Linked DNA regions of Homo sapiens: all the other regions are linked to region 1. The links are contacts of gene promoters, found by promoter capture Hi-C in blood cells and fetal thymus (Javierre and others, 2016). All regions are on one chromosome and are shown on one strand. Each heading gives the region's core, a stretch centred on a gene start or on the middle of the fragment in contact. The rest is flanking DNA. Distances are from core to core; before and after follow the strand shown. Region 1 holds the start of MRPL39 (mitochondrial ribosomal protein L39). Region 2 has its middle 110 kb from the start of CYYR1. Region 3 has its middle 130 kb from the start of ADAMTS1.

What was found. The method cuts DNA at HindIII sites, captures the fragments that hold promoters and counts their contacts. A CHiCAGO score of 5 or more calls a contact.
Region 2: a contact is called between a fragment that was not itself captured here and the fragment with the promoter of MRPL39 in region 1, in 1 of 17 cell types (fetal thymus). The highest score is 5.0, in fetal thymus.
Region 3: a contact is called between a fragment that was not itself captured here and the fragment with the promoter of MRPL39 in region 1, in 4 of 17 cell types (fetal thymus, total CD4 T cells, non-activated CD4 T cells and 1 more). The highest score is 8.3, in fetal thymus.

Annotation. Positions count from the first base shown.
Region 1 is chr21:25,605,522-25,608,736 of GRCh38, reverse strand. It overlaps MRPL39 (mitochondrial ribosomal protein L39), which reads left to right and starts at 1,256. Exons shown (of 10, transcript NM_017446.4): 1 at 1,256-1,334; 2 at 2,082-2,288. The coding sequence starts at 1,262. RefSeq lists a silencer at 152-211 and an enhancer at 1,192-1,311. The HindIII fragment of the contact is 17,691 bases long and covers 1-3,215 here.
Region 2 is chr21:26,681,129-26,684,522 of GRCh38, reverse strand. No RefSeq gene overlaps it. Among named protein-coding and RNA genes, the nearest start is that of CYYR1, 110 kb to the right of the region's middle. The HindIII fragment of the contact is 211 bases long and covers 1,852-2,062 here.
Region 3 is chr21:26,718,475-26,722,011 of GRCh38, reverse strand. No RefSeq gene overlaps it. Among named protein-coding and RNA genes, the nearest start is that of ADAMTS1, 130 kb to the left of the region's middle. The HindIII fragment of the contact is 3,282 bases long and covers 618-3,537 here.

The DNA of each region.
Region 1 (3,215 bases), core at 7-2,506:
AACTGTATGCAAATTTGAGGAAGCAAAAGATACACCCGCCCTCCAACACTATATGTATATATGTACATTTCGTGGTTTGAATTAGGATCTTAAATGAAATGTAGCCTGGTAAAATGTAGACTGGATGTAAATCCAAGCTCCGTCACTTACATTTCCCATTTTAAAAAGTGAAGATACTTACACTTTCCTGGCGCAGTGGTTGTGAGTGTAACATTTGGGCCAAGGAGACGGTCGATCTATCGTGGCGCAGGGTCATATTTGTACCTTAGGCGGCACTTCCACCTGGTGGCGGCGCATTCCAATTGCAAGGCAAAGGACAGAGTGGGGGAAAGGCTGAATTCGACACCCTTAAGTAAAGCCACAGAATTAAACTACTGTAAATGAAAATATTTCCATCCTGTACCTACAGAGTGCTTACTTCAAATAACACTCACGTCCTGGTAGGACAGAAAAATTAGACAATGAGCTGAAGTTTGCCTGCAAGGGCATTCATTCATTCATTCATTCAAGAAACATCTGTTGAGCGCTGACTGCGCTGTGCTCTGTTCTGGGCGCTTGGGATACATCAGTGAACTAGAGACAAAAATTCTGCCCCGGGATGCCTTCTCCTATACATCCTATACTATATAAACTAAACTAGAAAATTTGTAAAGAGCTCTTAGGAATTACAACGTCCTCTCCAAAGTCAAGGGGACGTGTTCCGAGGCCTCTATTACCACAGCTAAGGGGAGAACCGGGGTGCAGACCCACTCCAGCCGAACTAAGAACCTACCCGGCACAATTGAAAGTTAAGCCACGCGCTAGAGGATGTCATCGCTGACAAAATAGAAGACGCCTTCCCCATTCCCCCCCACCCCCGCCCCCGCCAAGAAAACCATATATTCTTTTAGGGAAGCAAGCGCTTCACCTGGGTGGCCGGGATCGAACCCGCGGAGGGCTGAAGGCGGAGGGCAACGACGCCTGTGGAACTCTGTTTCCCTGCAGAGCCTACGTGGTGGGCGGCAGGCCGACCGCCCTGGGGGCCCTGCACCTCTGGGTAGGTGACCGCGCCCAGGTATCGAGCACAGGTAACGCGCCCCGGCTCCGAGTCTCGGGGTCTCAGCCACTGAATCCCCAGCGAGGCCTGACGCCCCCCGGTGGAGGCGAGCAGTCTGAGTGCTGGGTCCGGAACAGACCTGTCCTGCGGAACTCCGAGTGCGCGTTCGGTTTCCGGGGGAGGAGGGCGGAGAAGGACTTGCGCGCGACGGTTCTCACCGCTGCTATGGAGGCGCTGGCCATGGGTTCCCGGGCGCTGCGGCTCTGGCTGGTCGCACCCGGTGGCGGGATCAAATGGAGTGAGTTTCAGAGGCCGTAGGGACAGGGAGCGAGGCCTAGATAGTGGTGTCTGTCTAGATTGGGTCTGAGGCGGGGCCGGGGAGGTCCCGCGGGGCAGAGGAAGGAGGAGGGTTTCTTAGTCCCTCCGCGGCGGTCGCTCTTGCACAGCTTGGGAGGACTAATTTATGGGAACGAGGGTCTGGCGGAGGGCAGGGGCAAGGGCAGGGGTCGGGGCCAGGGGTCGGAGCCAGGCCGCGGGAGGAGCTTGGGCCCGCCTCTGGGAAGCAGCGCACGTTCCGTGCACATCTGTCCATGTCTTCCCAAGGAATACTCGTACTTGCCTTGGCAGGTTCCCTGATTTGGCCTTTGGGATATAAACTCAGCATTTCTCATTCTGGATATTGATAGTTTCGGTGTGGGACCTTTGGTTTCCTGAAATTTTCTTGTTTTTCTTCAGACCCTGTCAAACCGACCACTTTGTTCACCTTCCCAATGACTCTAGTCCAGTTTTGACTCCGTTTCCTGGTTACTTTTTGCCCCTTATTGTAAAGCACTGATTGGAAACACGACACAGGAAATTGGTGGGAAATAGCGATCTGATGTGAAAGAGCCAAATTTAAAAGTAGAGGCACGTATCTGGGCCAGCTCTGTTTCTTCCGCTGGTGTTTGTTAATATTACAAATTGGTTTAATTTTACCTCTGAGCGCACTTTTGGCAGTACGTTAATCATTTTTTCAGTCTTCATATTTATTGTAACTTCTCCACAGGATTTATAGCAACATCGTCAGCTTCTCAGCTGTCACCGACAGAATTGACAGAAATGCGGAATGATCTCTTTAATAAAGAGAAAGCCAGGCAGTTATCATTAACTCCCCGAACTGAGAAGATAGAAGTTAAGCATGTTGGGAAAACTGACCCCGGTACTGTCTTCGTGATGAATAAAAACATTTCAACTCCCTACAGTTGTGCCATGCGTAAGTAGCAGAATCAGGTTACAGTTTTGACCCTTTTACTTAAGCTGTGTGGAAGCACTGGTGCAGGAGACAGGATGCTGTAATTACTTCTGGTCATCTGTGGCCATGGCAATCCCTTTATACCAAAATCCTTTCTTGAGACCTGCATGGTGACTGCTCCCACCACATCACAGACCTAGCTAAAAAGAGCAAGCAAATCCCAGCTACTTGGGAGGCTGAAGCAGGAGGATAGCTTGAGGCCAGAAGTTCAAGACCAGCCTGGGCACCATAGCCACCCTGTCTCTCAAAAAATAAAAATAGAAATAAATTAGCCAGATGTGGTGGGCGCAGAAGTCCCTGGACTTCCCAGAGGTTCTTTATCTGGCACCTTATTGTCTATTCACTGTCCCTGTAGTTCTGGAGGGTACTCTGAGTATTGCAAGGTTGGCACTGTAGTGCACAGATTGTCCTGCCTGGCGCTTGTTTGAATCTGGCTTTGTTTATGGTACTAGATAATTTTCTGGCAGAAGGTGACCAGACCTGAGTGCATTGTTACTAGTGTGCTTTCTCCTTTAATTTAATTTAATTTTAGAGATGAGGGTCTGGCCCTGCTCCCAGGCTGGAGTGTAGTGGTACTATCATAGCTCACTGAAACTCCTAGCCTCAGCCTACGAAGTAGCTGGGACTACAGGTGCCCACCATCACACCTGGCTAATTTATTTTTATTTTTGAGAGAGAGGGTGGCTGTGGTGCCCAGGCTGGTCTTGAACTTCTGACCTCAAGCTCTCCTCCTGCTTCAGCCTCCCAAGTAGCTGGAATTTGCTTGCTCCTTTTAGCTAGGGCTGTGATGTGGTGGGAGGAGTCACCGTGCAGGTCTCAAGAAAGGATTTTGGTGTAAAGGGATTGCCATGGCCTCAGATGATCAGCTTTTTTTTGCCGCCTTTTTCT
Region 2 (3,394 bases), core at 708-3,207, 1.1 Mb before region 1:
ATACTTTTTCATGAATAAATAATACTCCATTGAATGAATGTCATAAATTACATCACTTTTTATTTTCATTGAACACAGGTTGCTTACATTCTTCCCATCACAGTAATATGTTTAAAAGTATTTGTATTTAAATGTTTAAAAATGTTTGTGTATTTAAAGATGTATTTGTTGACAAGAGGTAAATAGAAATTTTTAACAGTATGTTGTTGCTGAGGTATTTTCACTTGTTTTTTTTTCCCCAAGGTTTTTTCCAGCTTTATCAATATGTACTTCCCCATTTGTAAACTATCCAAGCAACTTCTAAGACCTGGCAGCAACTCCCTGGCACAATATGATGCAAGGAACACTCCCAGAGGAGAGAATGAAGCAAGTCACCTAAGCCTCCTGGGGATACATTTCATAAAATATTAGATCATGTCTTAGAAAAAAGATCAAGGGTGGCCCAGATCTTTGCTTTCCCTCGAGTGGCTTACGAGCTACAACTTTACCTCTGACTTGTCTATATATACACCCAAAAAAAATTCTGTTCTGGTTTTGCTTTCAAAACGTCTCAGGTTTTCCATTATTTTCCAAAATATGCTGGTTACCCAAATGTAGGACCTCAACTTCCTACTTTGAGTACTGAGGGATAGAATTCCTTAAAACAGTCTTGATTGATCTCTAGACTTACAAACTTCTTCCCCAGACAATCTATCCTGCTGCTAATGTTAAATTTTCAAAAAGGCAAAATTATGATTCTTGTTCAAATATGAAATGAACAAGGATTAAAGTGAGGGAATTAATGGCTGAGACAATCAGTAAGATGTTAAAAGCAGTTCAAGAGAGAACAGAATATATACATATAAATGTATATGTATGGGTATATGTGTGTGTGCTGTGTATATAAAATCAGGAATGCTGAACTGCAGTTGCTAGTAAATGCAAAACTGGTTAATGTCATATAATACAATAAAATGTAAACTTTGGGCTCATCTTTTCTACAGAGAAGGAACCAATTTTTTCTCAAACAATCAAAATTTATTTGCATAGTCACAAATTTTCTACAACCTAACTTCTACCTCTACTCAGCTGCAATATAGCTCAGTCAACAGAAAAACAATCTAAGGTGCGCCTTTCTATACAACCAGATAAACTCATCATTTCACTGAAAAGACACCCAGTAATCACTACTTCACCCATCATCTCTTATAATTACTCTTTACTGCTGTTTCAGCTTTTATAATACAGCCAATGTCATGATCTTCCCTCTGCATCCACATTAATCATTCCAGAATATACCCTCCACTCAACATAGGTCAATTTTTGCCACTTCCTGCACACTTCATAATTTTTCTTCCTGCGCTATCCCAAACTTTCTTCAAAATAATTCAGCCAACCTGTGTGGTAGATGCTTGACAGATAATATGAAGAGATATATTTTCTACCTTCAGGGAATTTACAGTCTAAAATGATCTTTCTCTTTTTCCTCCATGTATTTGCCTCCTCTTGATCAGTCAGTACTCACTATTCACTCTACTCTTGCAAAAAGACTTCTCCAAGTGCACCAGTCAACACTGACTCCTTTTCAATAACTGTGTGACAAATGGATGTGGCATGTGGGCTTTGAGTCCTTGATCAGTTTACAAAAGCATTTAGGACAAAGGTTGTATTTTAGCCTTTTATTTCAAGTAACTTCTACATCTATTACTTTTTGTGTTAAAACTGATAACTGTTACTTTAGATGCAAGGATTGTGTCTAGGGACTCAATGACTTCTGCAATCTTCATGATGAAATGTTTCTGGACCACTTTTGCTATCAAACTTTCTTGATGTAGTTAATTGAGCTTATCTCAATGTATGATTCACAAAGCTTTGATTTCAGACTGACAGCTGTCACATAAATATAGACTCAAATGAGCATAAATTTGCAGGTGCTGATCTATAAAAACATCTGTACTGTGAAGCAAATCACTTATAAAACCTCAACGGAAAAAAAAATTGGAAGAGGAGGTAGGAGTAGTCATAATCCTGGTATTTGATAAAGAGACTACTATCCTTTTAATTCCTTAATTTACTAAAAGCTTCTTACTATACTGATAATCTCATTTTCTGCTACTAAGAATGAGTAGGTAAAAATTATGCATCTCTATGAGGCTGTACATTTCAAAAAAAGAGTAGGAGAAAGTACACTCCCACAGGTTAAAATATTAGCATAAAGCAATTTCACATCCTTGGTTATATTATTATGGGTTTCTACTTGTAACAGTCACACAAAAGAGCCCTCATAAACTGGATCCTGAGTAGTTCAAATATTTTACAATGAAAATAAAATATATGATCTGAATGCAAAATCAAATGACCAACTACCCTTGCACTTTTATGTTGATACCTGTATCATCTTGTTAATAACTTCTGAAAATGAACTTGGTCCAAGCTCTAGTAAGAAAGCTATTTTAAATTAAAATCTCTTTCTCTGTTGTAAAAGTTTCATATTAGGTATGTGCATCACATTACTTTCTAACAGAAACACAATAGTAAGCCAAGTAAAGTCAAATTGCTCGCCACATCAGTTAAAGGTAGATAGATTAGAAATAAAATGATAGTGAATTTGCACTTAGAACTGAATGGACTGGATAATCATCTAATGGCTGCATTATAGTGAGGAAGGGCTTCATTTCCATCTGTTCTTAGAAGCTGATCAGCTTGACTAGATGCTATAAAGGATGAGTCACAGGGCCTGCAGGAAACATAGAACATGTACTCCGAATAAACTTTTTAAAAAATTATCTTCCACTCGCCTTTAATCTCAGCACTTTGGGAGGCCGAGTTCGGCGGATCACGAGGTCAGGAGATCGAGACCATCCTGGCTAACACGGTGAAACCGCGTCTCTACTAAAAATACAAAAAAATAGCCGGGCGTGGTGGCGGGCGCCTGTAGTCCCAGCTACTCGGGAGGCTGAGGCAGGAGAATGGCGTGAACCCAGGAGGCCGAGCTTGCAGTGAGCCGAGATCGCGCCACTGCACTCCAGCCTGGGTGACAGAGCGAGACTCCATCTCAAAAAAAAAAAAAAAAAAAATTATCTTCCTCTCTTCCTAAGATCTCTTCCTCCCACTTTTTGTTTTTATTGTGAGGACTGAAAACAAAGCAAAAAAAAAAAAATACAACTTGAAGTAATAAAAATTAAAGTTATTTTATTTTCTGCCATTTGTTTTGAAGTCACAGACATCTACATTAGTAGCACTTTAACTTCTTATTAAAATGACCAAGCAATGCTTTGGAGCATGTTTCTGAGAGTAAAATACAATTACAGCTGCTAAAAACAATAAAATCAAAGACGTTATGACTGTTTGATTTAAGTGATGAAAGCATTGGAAGATTCAACACCAAGAAGATAAATAAAATGGTTATCTATTT
Region 3 (3,537 bases), core at 1,009-3,508, 1.1 Mb before region 1:
TGTTCAGTTTCCAGCGGCTGCCTGCATTCCTTGGCTCATGACCCCTTCTTAACATTACTGCAACCTCTTGCTTCCATGGTGCTGTCTGCTGCAGACTCTAATTCTCCCTCTTATGAAGACCCCTGTGGTGATTACACTGGGCCCACTGGAATAATTCAAAATAATATTCGCATCTCAAGATCTGTAACTTAATCACATCTGCAAAATCCCTATTGCCATAAGGTAACTTACACAGGGATACAGGGTCTAAGAGCTGAATATCTTTGCGGGGCATAAGTCATCCTACACACACACACACACACACACACACACACACACACACACACACAAGCAAACATTAACAAATAAATTTTCTTTATCTTTTGTGTTACAAATGTAACTATTAAAATTACAACAGAAACCAAATAACTTCCAAGTTTTCACGATTAAAAAATAAATGCCATGGGCACTTAATAGATTGCTTTAGCTTCTAATAACAATGAAACATTTATCTAAAATATCTATAATAAGGGCCTCAGAAGACTTCATGAATATTATCTTAATTTTATTCTTGCAACATCCAAACGGAAGTGCAGTTGTCAGGTATTTTTTGATAAATACGTTGCAAAGCATAAGCTTTTGAAATAAAGGAGGTGACTTATTAAAATGTTCTAAGAATATCTGATTTACAGATGACTTTTCTTTTTTTTTTTGAGATGGAGTCTGGCTCTGTTGCCCAGGCTGGAGTGCAGTGCCGTGATCTTGGCTCACTGCAACCTCTGCCTCCCAGATTTAAGCAATTCTCCTGCCTCAGCCTGCCGAGTAGCTGGGATTACAGCCACACACCACCATGCCTGGCTAATTTTTGTACTTTTAGTAGAGACAGGGTTTCACCATGTTGGTCAGGCTGGTCTCGAACTCCTGACCTCAGGTGATCCACCCACCTCAGCCTCCCAAAGTGCTGGAATTACAGGCGTGAAACACCATGCCTGGCCTACAGATAACTTTTGATGTGGAGAAAATGAATAGGTATCTGATACTCAGCTCATGGCTTAATTGCAAGTACCTAGATTAAGTAAGCAATTGTGATTGCCTCCTAACTTTAAAAAAAAGTTGCATAATATAAATCATATACGCTATCTTTGTGTTTAGCTTCTCATTACGAGTCATGTTTCTATGTCTTATTATTTCTTAAAGTCCCACTGAGATCCTAACAGACTGTAACAGAAATGCATGTTACATGTAGCTGAGCATTTAAATTCAATATCAGTTATACATTTGAAAGAAAATTAGCATCCATTAGTTCACATAAAAATGAGCGTCTTTCCACCAAAACTTTAGACATTTCTTAATGATTTGCCCTGTTATACTATAAATTCCTGCAATCAAGTGACCTTATCTCATTCCTCTTGGTGTCTTCCTACAATATTCCTGCCAATACTTACATTAGATCAATTCTGCCGATAACTTCAGAATCTAGAAAGGTCAACTTTATTTCTTTACATGCTTCTTCTAAATCTGCTCCTTTTCCTTTAGCATTTTCATGATGTCTCCTAACCAACTGTTAACCTGTAACTGAGATGGTCTTTCTTTTATTTTTACTTCTAATTCTTACCTACCCATTTGAAATGAACCTGTTAAAATGGTTGTCCCTGAAGTAGCATTTCCCTTTACATCCTACAAAGATCCACAGCTTCTACTAGAATTATCGGAGTGTTTGTGCATGTATGTATGTGTGTCTGTGCGTGCGTGTATGTGTGTATATGTGCAAATTATCTTTCCAGTTTGGAAGGCTGGTGGTTGCATGTAGGCATATATTTTCATAGGCTCTCATTTCCTGAGGCTTTACCATTTGCTTTAGAGATTAGGGAATGCCCATTCCAAAAATAGCCAAGTTCTTGGTGCATAAAGGATGTTTTTATCTGCCAGCCACCACTGCCCAGGCTGCAGTTCAGGCTTTCTCTTCTTCCTGTCCTCCCGCTCCTCATGTCTTTGCCAGTGTGCCAGAGCTCTGTGGGTGGCCCGCTGTCATCACTCTGCACCTGTCCCAATTAGCAGGCCTGAGACGCCGCCAAGGCAGCTTGCGTGCTGTGGACTAGTGCGTTGTGTGACCTCATGGCTGGCAAGGCAGCGGCTCTATGGTATGTGGTGTCTAGACGCCATTTGTTGGGCCTGCCCGGTGGGCAAAAGCTGTGTGTGGTATTGGAGGTTTCCCACAGCTGTGTTCACAGGCTGAAAAAGACTCACCAGAGGCTGGACAGCTGGGACCAGGTCATCCATCTCAGTGCCCTCAGAGTTCATCACGGGCCTGACACATGATAGGTGTTCATAGATCTTTGTTGAAATTACAGTGGTTTAGGGCAATATTGATTTTCAACTGTTGCCACAAAATCTGGGAGAGTGTTGAGATGAAGAACATGAATGCTGGAGGCAGAAGGACCCTGGGTTCAAATTCTGACTTTGCCACTTTCCAGCCATATGACATTAGGGAGGTGTGACAATGACCCCATGTCTCAGTTTCCTTATATTTTATGGGGACACTAGTAGCCCCATCTTATAGAGTTGTGATTATTAGAACAGCTTATTCTTGAATAGCTCTTAACACATAACCAGGCATGTGCCTAAGGCTCTAGAGATGCTACACTTTTCATAATCACCACATTTCATCTGCAGTCGCCCGCCAGCCTGCCCACTGTCATCATTTTCTCATTCTGATGTTCTACATATGTGACATACCTTAAACACTACCTTTTTTTTTTTTTTTTTTTTGAAACAGAGTCTCTCCCTGTCGCCCAGGCTGGAGTACAGCAGCGCGATCTCGGCTCACTGCAACCTATGCCTCCTGGGTTCAAGCGATTCTCCTGCCTCAGCCTCCTGAGTAGCTGGGATTACAGGCGCGTGCCACCACACCTGGCTAATTTTTTCTTTTTTTCTTTTTTTTTTTTTTTGTATTTTTAGTAGAGACGGGGTTTCACCATGTTGGTCAGGCTGGTCTCGAACTCCTGACCTTGTGATCTGCCCACCTCAGCCTCCCAAAGTGCTGGGATTACAGGCATGAGCCACCATGCCCGGCCTAAACACTGCTTTTAAAATATTACTAGTAAATGAATTCAGCAAAACTATTTCTTTCTCTTTCTGTGTTAAAGGTTTTAAACTGGCTGTTAGGAACATGTTCCCTGAGATGGGGCATTACCGTCTTCATCCTCTTTGCAAAGACAGGGGGAAGGGACTAGGAGGCCTGGGACTTCCTTCTGAATCTTCTACTTTCAAGGAAAGGACAACAAAATACACAAATGTTAATAGACCACACACCTTTCTCCTTAAATTCAGGAGGTCTAGTGTGACTCATTTTGCTGTCAGAAGCTATTTTACTGAAGGTAGAAAACAATAAAATGCAATGGTGATATAATTTGGATATTTGTTCCCTCTCAAATCTCATGTTGAATTGTAATCCCCAGTGTTGCAGGTGGGGCCTCGTGGGAGGTGTTTGGATCATGGATGTGGATTTCTCATGAATGGCTTAGCACCAGCCTCTTGGTGCTCTTGTCGAGATACTGA